2 separate regions of the Homo sapiens genome follow, and region 1 is linked to region 2. Evidence: promoter capture Hi-C in 16 types of primary human blood cells and fetal thymus (Javierre and others, 2016). All regions are on one chromosome and are shown on one strand. The core of a region is centred on a gene start or on the middle of the fragment in contact, and the rest is flanking DNA. Distances in the headings are between cores, read along the strand shown.

What was found. Contacts are between HindIII fragments. The CHiCAGO score rates a contact against its expected background, and 5 or more counts as called.
Region 1: a contact is called between a fragment that was not itself captured here and the fragment with the promoter of IGSF6 in region 2, in 14 of 17 cell types (M1 macrophages, total CD8 T cells, naive CD4 T cells and 11 more). The highest score is 11.3, in M1 macrophages.

What each region holds. Positions count from the first base shown.
Region 1 is chr16:22,185,804-22,192,074 of GRCh38, forward strand. SDR42E2 (short chain dehydrogenase/reductase family 42E, member 2) reads left to right here. Exons shown (of 13, transcript NM_001394319.2): 12 at 918-991; 13 at 4,336-5,948. The coding sequence ends at 4,590. It overlaps LOC124903666 (a long non-coding RNA gene), which reads right to left and starts at 2,209. Exons shown (of 2, transcript XR_007065028.1): 1 at 2,168-2,209. RefSeq lists silencers at 4,334-4,423, 4,514-4,563, 4,704-4,803 and enhancers at 4,509-5,008, 5,264-5,343, 5,844-5,903. The HindIII fragment of the contact is 461 bases long and covers 2,774-3,234 here.
Region 2 is chr16:21,651,334-21,657,339 of GRCh38, forward strand. IGSF6 (immunoglobulin superfamily member 6) reads right to left here and starts at 1,275. Exons shown (of 6, transcript NM_005849.4): 1 at 1,199-1,275. The coding sequence starts at 1,265. METTL9 (methyltransferase 9, His-X-His N1(pi)-histidine) reads left to right here. Exons shown (of 5, transcript NM_016025.5): 5 at 3,894-6,006. The coding sequence ends at 4,099. The HindIII fragment of the contact is 3,735 bases long and covers 271-4,005 here.

The DNA.
Region 1 (6,271 bases), core at 1,754-4,253, 540 kb after region 2:
GCTATGTTACCCCAGCTGGTATCGAACTCCTGGCCTGAAGCGATCCTCCCACTTCAGCCTCCAGAGTAGTGGAGGTAACAGGCATGCACCTCCATGCCTGGCTATTTTCAAAAATTTTTTAGAGATGAGGGCGTCTCACTTTGTTGTCTAGGCTGGTCTTGAACTCCTGGCTCCAAGAGATCCTCCCTCCTCAGTCTCTTATGCTGGGATTACAGGCATGAGCCACCACACCTGGTTCTCACAAGTATTATTTTTAAATTGGTCCCACATGCAGCCCAGTTTGAGAACTGTTACTCCAACCTCTTTCTCTCCTACTCCAGAGAGCATTGGAGTAGAAGTGAGAGAGAGATTATTATATGGATAACTTTGAATCTGTTCAGATTTATTTAAAAACTTCAGTCGTTCAATTTTTTTTTTTTTTCTGACGGAGTCTTATTATGTTGCCCAGCCTGGAGTGCAGTGGTGCAATCTCAGCTCACTGCAATCTCTGCGTCCTGGGTACAAGCGATTCTCCTGCCTCAGCCTCCCCAGTAGCTGGGATTACAGGCATGTGCCACCACGCCCGGCTAATTTTTGTATTTGTAGTAGAGACAGGGTTTCACCATGTTGACCAGCCTGGTCTCGAACTCCTGATCTCAGGCAATCCGCCCGCCTCAGCCTCCCAAAGTGCTGGGATTACAGGCTTGAGCCACTGCACCCAGCCTGGTCATTTAATATTAAAAACAAGTTACTTGTGACATATTTCACAGCTAAACAAGGCACCCCAGCAAGGGCTGCTGATTTAAAGGAATCCAGTGACTTCTGCAAAGTGACCTCTAGCAAAGCAAATGGTGTCCCCCATTGATTTGTCCCCAAGGGCCTCCCTGGAGTTTGCATAATGTGAGGCCCCTGGTCACTGGCCCCCTCCTTCCCTGCAGCAGCAGTTATGGAGCGCCTCCATCTGGCCCTGAGACCCATCTGCAGCCTCCCACCGCTGCTCACTCGTAGTGAGGTAAGTGGGCTGCTGTTATGGGACCTAGGCCCTGCTCCCCATCCCTCCCTTCCTACCTCTCCCCACCATCCCCACTGCTGCCACTCCTTACCCCTTTGACACCATGATGACACATGCTTGTCTGAAGTCTCAGAACTTTCCATGTGGGCCCAAAGCTGGTGCTAGCTCTGTTATGATCACCCCAACCTCTGGGCTTTTGCTGAGGCTGTGCTTTCTGGGTCTGAAATGTGACAGCTCCAAGCCTATCCATCATCACTGTTTCTTCATTCATAAGCATCTTGTCTTTCCAGCCAGACTGGAGGTTCCCAAAGGCAAGTTTCAGGCCATTCACTTCTTTGAATGCTACCAATCCCACCAACTCTCAACACATACATACACACACACAACAGCCTGGTGGTCCTAGGCTCATAGTTCATGCTTACTGAATAATGAGTATATATTAAGTACCTACTACATACAGAATATAATTATTTTTATGAGACAGGGTCTCACTATATTGTCCAGGCTGGTTTCAAACTCCTGAGCTCAAGAGATCCTCTTGGCCAGGTGTGGTGGCTCGCACCTATAATCCCAGTGCTTTGGGAGGCTGAGACAGGAGGATCACTTGAGGCCAGGAGTTTGAGACCAGCCTGGGCAACATAGCAAGACCTCATCTCTACAAAAAATTTTAAAATTAGCCAGGCAAGGTGGTGCATGCCTTTAGTCCCAGCTCAGGTGGGGGATTACTTGAGCCCAGGAGTTCAAGGCTGCAGATTGCACCACTGTACTCCAGCCTAGGCAACAGATGGAGATCCTGCCCCTAAAAACCAAAAAAAAAAAAAAAGATTCTCCCCCCTCAGCCTTCTAAATAGCTGAGATTACAGGCATGCACCACCATGCCTGGCTCAGAATACTATTCTCATAATAATGATGATGCAGGTTTATATTTGCTTAGTTAAAAGAGAGGATGTTTTCATCACAGATTGTAAATAGCAAAGTAATCGGTGGTATTTGAGGTTATTTGCAAAAATCCTTCCAGTCCAGTCGGGCACGGTGGCTCACACTTGTTCCCAGCACTTTGGGAGGCTGAGGCGGGTGGATAACCTGAGGTCAGGAGTTTGAGACCAGCCTGGCCAACGCAGTGAAATCCTGTCTCTACTAAAAATACAAAAATTAGCTGGGTGTGGTGGCACATACCTGTAGTCCCAGCTACTCGGGATGCTGAGGCAGAAGAGTCGCTTGAACCTGGAAGGTGGAGGTTGCAGTGTGCTGAGACCACACCATTGTACTCCAGCCTGGGTGACAGCACAAGACTCCATCTAAAAAAAAAAAAAAAATTACTTCCAGTCCACTCTCGTTTTATTGTCTCTGATGCCCTGCTAAGTTAAAAAGGTCAAAAAAAAATCGTGATCTCCATTTTATGATGAAAAATTGAGCACTAGGAAAATTATTTGTCCAAGGCCACACCATACTGGAATTGGCTTCAGACTCCATGTTCAGTGCTCTTTAACAAGGGGAGTCAGAGGGGGAGAGTGGAGAATGGGCCACAGAAAGAAGTAGTCACCTATGGCTTCTCCTTTGAGCCATCCGGATCAGTGGAGGAGAGAATAAGATGATACTGACAATCTCTTGAGTTGTGACAGTATGCCAGGCACTGTGCTTTATCTCATTTAACTGAGTTGTAGACAACATTGTCCTCTCCATTTAGAGAGGAGGAAATGAGACACACAGTGAAATAACCTGCCCGTGATCACTCACTTAAATGGTAGAGCTGGGATTTGAACCCAGACCTCAGTGATTTCAAGCTTAACCATTAGCTTGTGAAAATGCATCAGGAATCACATCCACATAAAATAGCTGCCAGGGTGCAGCTGAATTGTGGTCAGGCAGGGACTTGGCTCCTCTCCCTCTTGTTTAACTTGGGGATTTCCTTGTTCAGCTCAGGGGCAATGTCCTTAACTGTGGAAGTTCCTTGGCTGTGGCTCGGGTACCCTCTGCTGGTCAATCTGTGACACATCAACCAGCCCTCCAGTTTGACTTTATAGCCTTTTATGCATTTAACATAAATGTTACCAGGCACTGTGCTGAGCAACGGAGGCAAGAAGACATAGTCCTTGCCCTTAGGGAGCTCCTAGTTCAAAGGGGAAGACAGCCCACTAACCAGGCAACTCAACACTGTAATTAGAGCCATTCTTGGGAAAATCGCGAGAAACTCCAGTGCACACAGAAGGGGCGCCTCAGCCAACTCTGAGGAAGTCAGAGAAAGCTTCCCAGAGGTGACATCTAGAGACATCTAGGTGTATTAGGGACCCTGCTTATCTAGCGTAACTCAACTCCTGTGCTCCCCAAAGCCCTGCACTTACTGACTAGGAAAAAAAGGGACAAATACTGGCCTCTCTCCTCACCCCCCATTAAGCATCCAAGACCACAGGTTTGACCCCAGGGGCTGTTTCAATGCCATGGGAGAATCCAGCAGCTGGTGGATTCTTCCCCAGGGTCCGGCTGAGGAAAAAGAGAGGAAGAAATGAGTCAGGTGGGAGAACATCTCCAGGTGCCAGCACAGCAGAGAAGAAATTAGGCTAGAACCTGGCTCCCCTGTGCGACCCCAGGCAAGTCACTCAACCTCTCTGACCTTTTTCCAAGTATGCACAGAACAGATAGTGCTAGTACCACCTGAGAGGATTAAATGAGGTAGGGCATAGAAAGGATTTAGTCCAGGCCAAATGCAGGGTGTGTGTTCCTTAACTGCTGATAGCTATCATTACTACCCTTCAAACCAGTGGGCCCCAAGCCATCTGGCAGCAGGGGAAACACAGCTTAGACCCTGGAGAGCAATCAGTTCTGCATAATCGAATTCCTCTCTTAGGGAAGCTTAGTTAATAAGCGAGGGCATGAAGGCTGCGACTGGGGCCCTCCTGGTCACAGTTGGTCTGGGGTTGGGGGCAGGAAGCCAAGGTCGTTTCCTGCAGATGTTTCTGGCAGGCGTTCACCTTCTCCTAGCGGATGCCTAAGAATGTATCAAGGGCCTCCTGAGTCCCAGCACCGTGCTAGGCCGGGAAGATGAGTGTAGGGGTGAGACCTTTGCTTCTTAGGGACCAAGGAGTTAAATAGGGTGCGAATTCAGCGGGGCTGGAGGGGGCGACGCAAAGGCGGCACCCTCCAATAAAAATGAACATGTAAGGAAGAAAGGAAGACCTCTCTAATGAGGGCATCGCAGGAGCAAGACGCTGCACTCGGGTCCTTTTAAATCACTATGTAATGGAGGGGAAATCCCTGCCCTCTCTTTTCCCTTTCCGTAAACAACGAAGTAGAGGATGTCCTCCTCCCACGAGGCCCGCCCTCGGATGCCCCGCCTGTCCCCGCAGGTGCGCAGCGTGGCCGTGACGCACACCTTCCAGATAGCCAAGGCCCGCGCCCAGCTCGGCTACGCGCCGGATAAGTTTAGGTTCGCCGACGCCGTGGAGCTATACGTGCAGTCCACGACCCGGCGGCCCCGCGGCTCCACGGCGCGGACCCTCCTGCGCCTGCTGCTCAGGCTGCTGCTGTTCCTCGGCTTGCTCGCCCTGGCCCTGCACTTCCTAGGCCTGCAGCCTCTGCACGCCGCCGTGGAGCGCCTGTGACCGTCCGCCGTCCGCCGCCCGCTAGGGTCGGCCCCGCTGCACCCTCGCCCACGCCCGGCTCCCTGGGCTTGTACCAGCCCCTGCCCCGCCTTCTGGGTTTGAGCGCGCCTCCGCTCCGCCCCTTGAATCCTGGTCACGCCCCCGAGCCGCTCTCCAGACCTAGCCCGGACCGCCGACTTCTGGCCACGCCCCTATCTACTCCCAGACCTTGCCTTGCGCCCTTCCTGTGTTTTGGCCCCGCCCCTGTCCTGTCCCGCCCCGCCCTCCGAAGTGGGCACGCTCCTGCTCCGCCCCCTGAATCCTGGCCACGTCCCTGGTCGGCCCAGACGCGTAGCCCCGAGTCTCTTTCCATGTTTTGACCACGCCCTTGACCCGCCCTTCAAATTGGGCACGCCTTCTTCCCCGCTCACTGATTTCCTGGCCTAGCCCCTGAGCAGACCTCCAGACCTAGCCCCGCCCCCGTTTTATAACCCCGCCCCTGCTTCACGGCTTGGGCACGCCTCTTCCCCGCCCCCTGACTTCAGAGCCTAGTCCTGAGCCGCTCTCCAGGCCTAACCCCGCCTTCATGTCATAGCCACGCCCCTTCCCGCCCTTCCATGTTTGGGCACGCCTTCTGAGTCCTGGTCACGCCTCTGTCCCGCCCCCTGAATCTTTCCTACGTCCATGACCCTCCCTCCAGGCCCTGGCCCTGCCCCTTTTTTCCTCCCTCCGGCCTGTCCGGTTTCTGATATGGGCCAAGGCTCACAGCTTCCTCCGCCTTCTGGACCTTCTCCTAGTCCCTGCCCAGTCCCGGCCCACCCCCAGATTCTCCCTCATTCTGGTTTCGCCCCCTTTCTGGTCCTCCCCGCGCGCTTGAGCCCACCCTTTGGCTTCTCCTTTTGGGTCTGTCCTTGCTCCTGCCTCTGGACCCGGTCCCGCCCTTCTCGCGTGTAATTGAGTCCTGGCCCCGCCCCCTCCCTCTCTGGCTTCACCCCTTTCCAGCTCCGCCTCCCGGGTAGGTTCTCCCCGGAACCAGGCTGCCGCGTCGCTATGGGCTAACGCAGGCTCGGGTGACGTTGGTATGAGTTTGCGCCGTCGGCTGCTGCTCTGTCTGGTAACATTGCATTCGATCCACCCCGACCCAATGTTCTGGGCTTCTCATTCACACAGATCTGTGTGTTGACAGCCAGGGTTTGGGGAAAAACCGAGACTCAAGCTTCTGCCGAGCCCGACTTGGCCTTTTTGGGTTCCTGTCTGAGGATGACAGCATAGTAAGCACAGGTTTTAGTACCAGAAAGAGCATGAAAAATTTAAAAAAAAAAACTCTTAAAATAATTGGATGTCTCGATGAAGTACCAATAAAGCTATAATGGGAAAAATAGAGTTTAGTTGGTTATATTTTATGATTTAGTACTGTTTCTATTTATTAATTAGAGGTAGTGGTAATCACCATAATCTTTAAAGTTTAAGGTCACGAAACTTCTTTATCTAGCCCTGCTCTCCACAGAAACTTCGCCTCCTATCATCTTGGTATCAGTTATCAGTTGTAAGTACCAAGACATCAGTGTGTAAATACAACCATGTATAGATCATAATATGCACACGTGGGACTGGCAGAGAAGAAAAGCACCACAAGCCTGAGGTGGATGGGATCGAAAGGGCTCATCAGAACCAACATGGCCACCGCAGTGTGTGTCCCACT
Region 2 (6,006 bases), core at 25-2,524:
GCCCAGGCTGGAGTGCAGTGGCACAATCACAGCTCCCTATAGCCTGAAAGTCCTGGGCTCAAGTGATCCTCCTGCCTCAGCCTCCCAGGTGGGTGGGACTGCAGGTGCAGTGCAGGTGCCATCACGCCCAGCTATTTTTTTTTCTTGTGTAGAAATGGGGGTCTCATTATGTTGTTCATGCTGGTCTTGAACTCCTGAGCTCAAGTGATCCTCTCACCTTGGCCCCCAAAGTGCTGGGATTACAGGCATGAACCACCACGCCCAGCCCAAAGCTTTATTATATTAGATTTCAAATTTCTAACATATCAAAGTAGCGAAGTAGTACAGTCAACCCCCTGCCATCACATGGCTTCGACCCAATCTTGTTTCTTTTCTCCTCCCACCTACTCCCTCACTCCCATATTATTTTAGAGCAAATCCCAGCCATTTTATCTGCATCTTTCAGAATATATCTCTAAAAGACAGGAATTCTTCTTTAAAATAATGCTAATTAAAATAGTCTATGAAAGTAATATATACTTATTAGCAAAAAACAGGTTATTAAAAGTAGAAGCAAAAAGTCACCCATAGTCCTTTTGCCTGAAATAACTCCCATTAACATTTTGATATATTTCTTCACAGATGAGAAAAAATTAAGAACTTTCCCCCCTTCCCTGCCCTATAATCCAAATTGTGTGGGCAAATCTGAGATTACTAGATGTATTGGAAATCCTTTCTCTTTCATAGATAAAAAAACAGAAGTAGACAGAATTTTAAAAATAGATATACTATGGGATGGCTATTGGAGTCATGGCAGTTTTTTTTTTCTTAAATGAAAAGTACTTTTATAGAAATTGTTCTTTGAAAATATTCAGCAAATAATCATTTATTGCTTTCTATGTGCAGATCAAGTTTGTATGATAATTAAATTATTGATAACTTATACCTACGATTTTAAGAATATTTTCAACCCTTTGGTCAGATTGTCTCCAATTAGCATAATAGCAAAGAGACTTTTCAAGGTTAATATGAAACTTTTTCTCAGCTATTTTTTTATTGTCTATTTCTCAGGGGAAAAAGGAAACTTATCCTCTTAGGCAGTTTTCATAATGTTATACATTTAAAAATTAATCTGAAGGAGCTTAAAATATAAATGCATTAGGTGAAAAATAGCAGTTGATTTAAATAAAATGAAGGAGGAGAAGAAAAAGAACCTTACCGACACAAAATAGAATGAGATTGGTTTGCAGATGGCGAGCGATGTTGCTTCTGCTCGCAGTCCCCATTTCTGTGTATGCCGGGGCGGGTTGGGGTGTGTATTTGAAAGGAAAGTTGGCTTTCTTTTTTCAGAAGGGAAGAAGAGCTGAAGAGAGGAACCTCTTATGAAGGAACCATAATCAGGAACTTTTTGAAATTGTGCAAGGATGGCTTCACCATTTAACATTGAGATTTTGGCCTGGAGCACATTTAGAAATGTGCATATCTTTTTTTTTTCCATGGATTTTACAGTTGTCATAGGTGTTAGATGTTTCTGGGTGAGATTTTGATTTACACCTAGCACATATTTCCAGGAAGGAGTATTGTTTGACAAATAATTCGTACTTGGATTTTTCAGAACAGTTCAGTCACTGTCTAGGGTACCTGCTCTGGGTGCCACTCTGGGCCAGTAACTGCTGGGAACAAAGAACAGCAGAAGGAGAAGTGGCTTTGTGTAGAGATGAGAAAAGTTAGTAAACAACACATTCTAATGCAGCGAATAAATAAATTGTCTGTTATTAACTTTTTGTACTCCAGTTTTGAATCCAAAGACACCTGCCTTCCCCCCTTTTTTGACAGGGTCTCTATCACCCAGGCTGGAATGCAGTGGCAAGATTGCAGGTCATTGCAGCCTCAGCTTCCTGAGTAGCTGGGACTACAGGCATGCACCACCACCCCTGGCTAATTTTTTTTTTTTTTTGTAGATTCTGTGTTGTCTAGGCTAGTCCTGCCCTCAAGCGATCCCCCTGCCTTGGCCTCCCAAAGTGTTAGGATTACAGGTGTGAGCCACCATGCCTGGCCCAAAGACCCCCTTTTAATGTGTTGAGAAACAAATATGTGGGCCCTCTGTCCTCTGTGTCCTCTCCCCCAGCACTTAGTGGTGATTCAGTAAGGGTCTTCTTTGTAAAGCAGCAGAAACAGACTCAGGCTGACTTAAAAGGAAATTTATGCAAACATTTGAAGGTAGATCCTAGAGTCACTGGGAGGGCTAGTGAATCTTGTGTGGGGTCCACAGCCAGGAAGAATGCCTCAAATCACACCATAAACAGGTCTGAAGAGGATGCTACTGCCACTGCCAAACACTAGGTGCCATCAGCCCTGTTGTCAGCATCGCTCAACCACTGCCCCAGCCCCTTGGTCTCACTGCCATTGCTCCACCCCCAGAGAAGGAGAAGCTCACATCCCCACTACTCTGGGTCACTGGCTCTCCATTCCAGGGCATGGGCAAGTGTGCCTGGCTTAGGCTGCGTGCCAGTGCCTCAGCTGCACGGCAGGCCAGGAAAGCGGCTCCCAGGCCTTGTGTCTCTCCCAGACTCTGGGCAGGCAATTCCCCAGACATGGGAAGAGCGTCATCTGCACCACTGAAAATTATGAAAAATCTCCCCACCATGATATGATGTCTGTGCCCTTGGCATCTGCTCATGATATATTTTCTCATTAACAGAAAGTTATTCTCAGTCTGTTTTGTTTTTTTTTTTTTTTTTTTTTTTGAGACAGAGTCTCGCTCTGTCGCCCAGGCTGGAGTGCAGTGGCACGATCTTGGCTCGCTGCAAGCTCCGCCTCCCGGGTTCACACCATTCTCCTGCCTCAGCCTCCCAAGTAGCTGGGACTACAGGTGCATGTTGCCATGCCCAGCTAATTTTTTTGTATTTTTTTTAGTAGAGACGGGGTTTCACTGTGTTAGTCAGGATGGTCTTGATCTCCTGACCTCGTGATCCGCCCACCTCGGCCTCCCAAAGTGCTGGGATTACAGGCATGTGCCACCACGCCCGGCCTCAATCTGGTTTTAACACTTCAACAGATGTATGTAGTTTTTGTATCACCATAGCACCTAAAAAGTACCCCCAAAGTTAAATATACTGTCATCTCTGTGTGTGTGTCTGTAGTCAGTGCCAGGTTTGTATGTGAATTTGAGGACCTTCCCTAGTCCCCTTGTCCCCCAGGCATCTCCTGCTCATAGGTTTGGAAATGACTGATAGAGGCTTCATCTCTAGTCCAAGAAATGCTGGACGGTGTATCCATCCTACTGTTCCATCTCTCTCTGGTCCTGGAGCTTAATGTTTATGAAATTGTTCTGAAAAGGCAAAGAATGAGTCAACTTCCCTAGAAAAACTCCCCAATGATCTGCTTTTCTAAATTAAAATCCTTCATGAGCCTGTTTTTATTTTCAGCCTAATAAATCTCTCTAGGTAGTAAGTTGCATAAGTTTACTATGCCAGTGGTATTTTCTTGCATTTGTCCAAAACTGTCCTTCAGATATTACATGTTGCTCTCTGTTTCAGTATTCCAGCATTTAATGACCAGTTTTCCAAACCCATTAACCATTACACCCTGCAGTCAGTCTATTGGCAGATACTACCCAAAACTGTCAGAGAAGATAACAGTGTGGGGCCTTGGATCCAGACAAACCTGGGCTTACATTTCCATACTGACACTCATTAACCTTGCAAGCGTGGGCAAGTTCTTCACCCCTTCTGAGTCTGTTCTTTATCTGCCCACCTGTCTCAAAGAGTACCTGGGAAGTACAAAAGAGGTAACTCATGAAGCCCTCAGGCTTGGAACGTACCAAGTCCTTGGTAGATATGGCTCCTCCCTGCTTCCCTCTTTAAATCACTTGTTTGTTCAAGAATTTAACTGAATGTTCTTATTTGTATTAGTAGGTGGCAAGTGGGAGAAACCATCAGAAATTTTGGAAATCAAAGGACAGAACTGGGAAGAACAAGTGAATAGTCTGCCTGAAGTTTTCAGAAAAGCTGGTTTTGTTATCGAAGCTTTCACCAGACTACCATACCTGTGTGAAGGCGACATGTATAATGACTACTACGTTCTGGATGACGCTGTCTTTGTTCTCAAACCAGTATAAACACGTGGAGGTCGAAGTCTTCAGAGTCCGCACCCTCCGGGATGTGCCCTTGGAAGAGGGTCTGTGTTCACAATTACGTGAAGGGAGGACCCTTGGGGACCGCCATTCTAAATATCATGTAGGAATTTAAAAAGCCAAAATACTAATTATTTCTTTGTAGTGTGTAAAGGAATGTTTTTAAAAGACAAAAACCCAACTCTTTGTGGATTTTTATCAACTCTTTACTCAGAGCCACTCTCCAATGCAGGTCACACTCCAATTATGATGGAAGATATTTTTTATACTTAATTGCAGTAGGGACTCATTCCCAGACAAAGCAATAGTCACGACTTCATGGAACCAATCAATGGATTGTTTTTTGAAGACTGGCAATAAAGCTGTCCATTCAATTCCAAATACTGGTTTTAAGGTATAGCCACTGATATTCTTTCATGTTTAGAAATTCTTTCTGTTATTATTCAAGAAAATGTTTTTAATCATGCTAATAAACTTTTTTGGAGATGACTTTGGCATCATGTTTGAATTCATATAAAGCTCCCCTAGCATTTTTTATTGGTTTGGCTTCAGGAGTACCCAAATAGTAGCATTATGAGAATGACGCAGACAATTTGAATAGGGGGGAAGGAAGGCTTCAGACTTGGGGGAAGGGGAGATTATTGCAAATTGCAGTGAACACTGAGTCAGTAAAAAAAAAAAACAGAAACAAAAACCCAGCCTCATTCAGATACAGAACTTCAGGGACCCCTCCCCCCACCCCCCCAGTTAATGCTGCTGTGAAAAATGCAAAATAACCTGGTTCTGACTTTGTGATCACTCATGTCCCATACACTGAACTTTGTTTTTTTCTGGACAATCTCAGGTTCTCAGAATTGAAACATTCAGTTTTGTCTACTGACAAAATGCAACTAAAAATGTTTTAATTCAACTTCTTACTCTACACTTATATACCTCTCTCCCAGAGCTTGGCTCTTCCCTGAAATCCTTAAAGGAGTTTATTATTTGCCAAGAATATGGTTTGATGAAGACCGTGTCAGACTCATGCATTCTGGAATCCGTGAGTGCCTCCAACCATAAACCCAGAAATGCTGCCATAGAGGAACCCATTAGCAAGATCAATAACCATCGTGGATATTCCAAAGAGCAGAGCATTTAACCCAGAATCTGAAATCTCAGTAATAACAGAAATGTCAATATGAGATTGTGGTTATTAACAATATGTTATCCTCACTACTTTATTTCTTTTTTCATCCAGGTGTTTCATTAAGTATTCTCATTTATATGCTCATAGAAGTCATCAGATCAACACATTCACTCCAACACCTGGGTATAAAGGCGAATTAAAACCTGAAGAATTACTTTATTATTCATTAAGAACTGCATTCCCACATCCTCACACCAATATCTTCCACTGTTACTGTGCAGTCATAATAAGAGTTGGGTTATGTGATTTATGCAAAATTGTTATTGGTGTGTTCTAATGATTTTTTTCCAGGAATTCAAGTAAGTGAAGTACAAATACTTAGCACCATAGATTGTAAAAATAGAAAGAGGAAATGAGAAAACTTAATGTCGTTCTTGTACAGTTGAGTTTTGCTTCTTTATAAACTGTCTGTTAAAATCAGGGGTTGCTGTTAGACTGTCAAGCAGAAGTGATGGATGTTCAAGGAGGCAGGTTGCCCCAAAGTGTTTTCTAACTTTCAAGTAGAGAACTTTATGCTCTAATAAGAAAAATACAACTCATTCTTAACCACCCCCCCAAAACAGAGAAAACACATACATTTATGCATTTTAAAGATAAAAAGTAGTTTCTCAAAAAAATCTGAAGTTCTCTGAAAACCAGCTTATTAAAAGTGCTGTTTTGTGGTGAAAATTGAAACCAAATCCACTCACATTTCCTATCGGGTCTT